2 separate regions of the Homo sapiens genome follow, and region 1 is linked to region 2. Evidence: promoter capture Hi-C in 16 types of primary human blood cells and fetal thymus (Javierre and others, 2016). All regions are on one chromosome and are shown on one strand. The core of a region is centred on a gene start or on the middle of the fragment in contact, and the rest is flanking DNA. Distances in the headings are between cores, read along the strand shown. Region 1 holds the start of PNPLA3 (patatin like domain 3, 1-acylglycerol-3-phosphate O-acyltransferase). Region 2 holds the start of PARVG (parvin gamma).

Evidence for each region. Contacts are between HindIII fragments. The CHiCAGO score rates a contact against its expected background, and 5 or more counts as called.
Region 1: the fragment with the promoter of PNPLA3 here is called in contact with the fragment with the promoter of PARVG in region 2 in 2 of 17 cell types (monocytes and erythroblasts); the score reaches 7.2 in monocytes.

What each region holds. Positions count from the first base shown.
Region 1 is chr22:43,922,376-43,925,140 of GRCh38, forward strand. It overlaps PNPLA3 (patatin like domain 3, 1-acylglycerol-3-phosphate O-acyltransferase), which reads left to right and starts at 1,430. Exons shown (of 9, transcript NM_025225.3): 1 at 1,430-1,723. The coding sequence starts at 1,537. RefSeq lists enhancers at 1,245-1,989, 1,990-2,732. The HindIII fragment of the contact is 6,907 bases long and covers 1-2,765 here.
Region 2 is chr22:44,179,338-44,182,174 of GRCh38, forward strand. PARVG (parvin gamma) reads left to right here and starts at 1,588. Exons shown (of 14, transcript NM_022141.7): 1 at 1,588-1,848; 2 at 2,405-2,580. RefSeq lists silencers at 849-898, 2,069-2,198 and enhancers at 1,575-2,305, 2,306-2,837. The HindIII fragment of the contact is 15,489 bases long and covers 1-2,837 here.

The sequences.
Region 1 (2,765 bases), core at 180-2,679, 260 kb before region 2:
AGCTCTGGACCAAGGTCTAACTTGGCTCCATGTACTGCTGTGGGCTTGCTCCACCCAGTGCCAGGGGTAGGTCAAGGTCAAGGGGCCTCTTAGGCATCTCCTAAGGGCATGCTACTATCCAAATGTTTGTGTCCCCACTAAAGGTCATCTGTTGAAATCCTACACCTTAAGGTGATGATCTTTGGAGGCGGGGGCCTTTGGAAGGTGATTTGATGAGAGGGTGGCACCCTTATGAATGGGATTGGTGCCCTTATCAAAGAGGCCCAGAGGTGAGGATGTGGCAAGATGGCACCTTCTACGAGCCATACCTCTCACCAGGGACCAAATCTGCTGGTATCTTGAACTTGGGCTTTCCAGCCTCCAGAACTGTGAGACAGAGAAATAAGCCAGGCGAAGTGGCTCACCCCTGTAATCCCAGCATTTTGGGAGGCTGAGGTGGGTGATGACTTGAGGTCAGGAGTTCTAGACTAGCCTGGCCAACATGGTGAAACCCCATCTCTACTAAAAATACAAAAAATTAGTCAGGCATGGTGGCGCATGCTTGTAATCCCAGCTACTCGTGAGGCTGAGGCAGGAGAATCCCTTGAACCCGGGAGGAAGAGGCTGCAGTGGGCCAAGATCGTGCCATTGCACTCCAGCCTGGGGGGAAAAAGATAGAAATAAATCTCTTGTTTGTAAGCCCCTCCGCTTTAAGGTGTTTTGTTTTCGCACCTGAACGGACTAAGGGACTAAGGGACCAGGAATCATCCAGGCCTCAGCTTCCCAAAGCACTCCCCACTCCCCAGTTCCTACAGGGCCCCGACCCCAGCCCCAGCACCCGTCATTCACATTTTTTACTTACAAAGGAAACTTTGAAATGGACACTTCCTGTTACTTTCATTCAATGAAAAAAATCCCCAGCACTTGAAGGCAATCATACAGAAAGCCTGCAACAACGCAGAGAGTAGACTCTTCAGGTGGTGGTGCCTGCTTTAGGCTGGCTCTCCCCGGGTCAAAAGGGACGTGATAAAGTGTTAAAGTGATGTTAAGGATCAAGTGGGCACCAACTGCGACTCCCCTCCCACCCCCCGACTTAACAGATGTCAAGGAAAACAGAAGGAAGCCGTTTCTCTCCAGGACATGCAGTGTCTGCTGGAGTTTTGGAAAAATGCTTTCTCTCGAGTCGCTGCGGGGAGCTCCCAGGCTGGACCCCCCCGCACAGGTCCTCCGCCATCGCCCTCCCAGCCCCCGCCCCCAATCCCCCTCCCAGACCCGGTCCCCGCCCCCATCCCCCGCCAGACGTCGTCCCCACCCCCATCCCCCTCCAAGCCCCGCCCGGGAGGGCGTCCTGCCCGCTCATTGGGCCTCCCGCCGGCTCATTTGCATGGTCCGAGGGGGGCGGGGCTGACGTCGCGCTGGGAATGCCCTGGCCGAGACACTGAGGCAGGGTAGAGAGCGCTTGCGGGCGCCGGGCGGAGCTGCTGCGGATCAGGACCCGAGCCGATTCCCGATCCCGACCCAGATCCTAACCCGCGCCCCCGCCCCGCCGCCGCCGCCATGTACGACGCAGAGCGCGGCTGGAGCTTGTCCTTCGCGGGCTGCGGCTTCCTGGGCTTCTACCACGTCGGGGCGACCCGCTGCCTGAGCGAGCACGCCCCGCACCTCCTCCGCGACGCGCGCATGTTGTTCGGCGCTTCGGCCGGGGCGTTGCACTGCGTCGGCGTCCTCTCCGGTATCCCGCTGGGTGCGTCTGGGGACGCTGCCCGGGCTCCACGTGCGGAGTGGGTGCCCCCTAGGCCGGGGAGCGGGGGATCCCCAGGGGTCGCGGGGCCCTGGAGGAGCGGGCATCGGACGCGGACACGGCGGGGTGCATCCCGAGGGCCCCCTCCGAGGCAGATGCTTCCTGCGGGGGCGCTGTTCCTGGGCCCGGGAAGGGGGCGTTGGAACCCCGAGCGGTCCGGGCCGAAGCCTGGGACTCTCGTGCGTCCCCACCCCTACCCCCATCAGGCGCCCGTGCATGAAGGGAGACCCTCACCTCCGGACTGAGAGTCGGAGCGTCTCGGAGCGACGGGGAGTAGGGAGCGGGACCCGGGGCGGAGGGTAGTGCTGGCCCCTGCGGACTCCGGGTCCCCTGTGTCCTCTCGGGAGGGGCTGGACGGGCTGAGCTGCCGAGGGGCCGATTTGCCCTGGGCCGGACAAAGAGTGGGGCTTTGGCCGGTCCCCCACGGTGGGCTCCTTCCCTCTGGGGATTGAGGGACTCAAGACACCCCGCGCCTGCGCTTTTCTTTTCTTTTTTTCTTTTTTTTTTTTTGAGACGGAGTTTCGCTCAGTCGCCCAGGCTGGAGTGCAGTGGCGTGATCTCAACTCACTGCAAGCTCCACCTCCCAGGTTCACGCCATTCTCCTGCCTCAGCCTCCCGAGTAGCTGGGACTACAGGCGCCAGCCACCAAGCCCGGCTAATTTTTTGTATTTTTTAGTAGAGACGGGGTTTCACCGTGTTAGCCAGGATGGTCTCGATCTCCTGACCTCGTGATCTGCCCACCTCGGCCTCCCAGAATGCTGGGGTTACAGGCGTGAGCCACTGCTCCCTGCTGCCTACGCTCTCTGGGTCGCAGCCCAGCCTTCTGGGGGCTGGGTAGCCTCCCAGAAGGGCAACCCTGGGCATCCTCCAGGGCAGGCTAACTGGAGTCTAGTGGGGAGGGGTACCTTGAAAGAGGAAAGTTGTTTCCTCCTCCTCCTCCTCCTCCAGTGTTTGGGACCCTTCCTGGGGGCTGGAGTGCATCCCT
Region 2 (2,837 bases), core at 338-2,837:
TCTTACATCAGCCCTGCAGCCCCAAGAGATGAGAGATAGCTTTGAGGGCTATCAGAGAACTCCCTGTATTCTGCACATACCTTGAGCTGAGAATGTAAAGCCCTGGGACTGTCCTTTTCTTGCTTTAAACTCTTTGGTGTGATGATAACAAGCTCACCCCACAGTCCTTAGATAACCTGTGCTCGTATTGCGTATGGAAGCCACAACTCTGCCAAAGCCACAATTTAATAGGTACTTCGTTCTGAGTGATGACAGGTAATTATTTTGCCATCACAGGCTACGATCTATTAGAACTCCATTCTCTAACAGTTACTAGGTCCCCACTGCCTTTAAATCAACCAGAACAAGTAACCAATCCCAGTTCCCATCCTGGAGGTCGTGTTGCCTGCAATTGTTTCTGGTAACAAATCCGAAGTTAATTGGGATTCAGTTGCCGATGATTAGAGTCTCTTCAGTTGTTTGGAGGAGAAAGGAATCTAACATAGGAAGCTGTGTGATTCTCAAGCTGTTGGAAGGCTGGAGGCAGCGCCTCCAGCAAGGACTCTTGGAAGAATACTGCAGAGCTGGCTCCTGAAGGAAGCTGCCGAGTCAGGCTGGCCCTAGAAGCATGCTTTCTGGGTTGAATGCTTTAGGTTCACCTCTGCAGATCCACTCCCCACCATTTTCTCTCCTCACATCTATGGGCCGCAGCAGGGGACTTCTTTTCTCTGGCTTCTGGCTGGATGTGGGCAGGGGAGGCCCTGGCAGGAGGGAGGAGAGTGAGGCTTGGTCATTGATTCCTCCAGCTGTGCCCTTCTGCTGGTTCACCATGAGCTGGCTGTGTCCCTCTACCAAAGGCCACAGCTCCTATCCCGAGGCCCCTCTTAGAGCTTCAGTGATTCTGTTCCTGGGCTCTGCCACCCACTCCCTCCTTCACCCTCTAGGTTTTGAAGAAGTAACAGCTCCCCATGTTGCTAGCCTGGGGTGTAGCACTGTCTCTTCTGGGTTCCTTTAACCCTGCCCCAGCTGTCCCTTTATTAAACAGTCTTCAGTTAGCACATGGGAATATACCGTCTCTTTGCTGCTGGGACTGTGACTGCTGCTACATCTATGTGGCTGTGATCCAGAGTCAGAAGCCACCACCAGAACCACTGTGTCCAGAGCTGGGCTGAGCCTGCTACACACGCCCCAGCAAAATAGGTCCTGCACGGTGGCTTCTCTCCCCACCTGTTACAAGCCCCAGTCTAGCACGGGCACTTCAGAATGGCAGGGACTGACTCATGTGCCTCAGTGTCTTCCTCTGTAATATGGGGGTGATGATTGTACCTACCTCACAAGGAAGTTTCCAGTAAAATGAAAGCCCTTAAAATTATGTTTGTTTCATCACCAATGACTCCATAAATATTAGCAACAATACCAGTACTAAGTTTTGTCATTTTTTATTAACTTCTTGTAAACGACCCTACTTTCCTGCTCTCACACACTCCTTACACCTGCATCCCACCTGATTTAGCCACTTTCTGCCTAACCTGTCAGAAAGGGTAGATAGCTTCCCAGTCACCTGTTGCTAGGGAAACTCACCATTTCAGCCCGGATGGTGAAGATTCCAGCTTGAGAGACCAGCTCGGGTCTGAAGTGTTTCTCTATCTACTGTGCTGAGATCTCTCCTTCTCGAACCCTGCTATGCCTTTGCATACGCTGTTTTCTCCACCTGCCACGTTCTCACCCCTTCTTCTTCCACTGCAAACTCCTATGCAGCCGTCAAGGCCCCATTCTCCTCTGGAAAGCCTTCCCGATCCCCTTGGCAACAACCACCACCAATATTTATTCACTGAGCCCACTTTGTGCCAAGCATTGTTCTAGACACGGGTATGTAACCGCGATTGAGAGAGACAGACCACGCACAGCCTGGATTTTATTTTAAGAGCTATTGGGTGCCGTTGGTGGGTTTGAGTGAGTGGGGTCAGGAAGTGACTCACTCCTCCGAGGGCTTGTGGGAGCCTCAGCTCAGGGGCGGGCAGGGGGCGTGGGGAAGTCTGCAGCCGAGAGTCCAGGTAGGAGTCTCCTGCGTGGTCCCGGGAGAGGAAGGGGCCTGGCCCGGGGCGGGGTGTGGAGGTGGGAGGACGGCGGTGCGGGATGGAGGGTGGAGGCCAGGCTGACAGGGTGCTGGTGGTGGGTTGCGGGGGTCGACCCCAGGCTCTGGCCTATGTAGCTGCCATTTTGGAGGTGAACAGCCTGCGGGGAAACTGGCATGGTTTGGGGAAGGCGGGGAGAGGGGGAGAAATGAAAGCATTGAGTTTAAGTGGCCTGCAGAACCCCGGGGGCCCAGGCGGCACGGCGGGCGCTGGGGCTCCGGGCAGAGCTTTCTGGAGGTTTGTGGCAGCTTCACTTTCACGGCATCCACCCCCCTCGGGCCCTGCCGCAGAGAGGAGGAAGCTCCTGCCGGCTGAGCGGGCCTGGAGGAAGTGAGCAGCGGGGCTCCTGCCTCCCGGCCTGGTCCCCGAAGACCCCAGAAGAACCCGGAACTTGCTTCCATTCGGAATCCAGGGACCACCCTTTGCACTCAGTAGGCCTTTGTTTTCCTGCGTGGAAAGCGGTTGGGTGAGTTCTGGCATCGGGGCCACCATACTTGAGTGTTGGGGGTCACGGAGGGAGGGGCCCAGACACCACCTGGGAAGGATCCCAGAGTGCAGTCCCAGCCCAGGCCACCCGGGGAAGGGAGTCGGTAAAGTGGGACCTTGAGTCCCCACGGCCCCTCCGGCTGCCCCTGCTCAGAGGCTGCTCGGCGTCCTCCCTCCCTGTTCTACTGAGGAGTTGCCGCCTCTGAACTTCAGCCAACCCCTCCGTCTCCAGGTGAA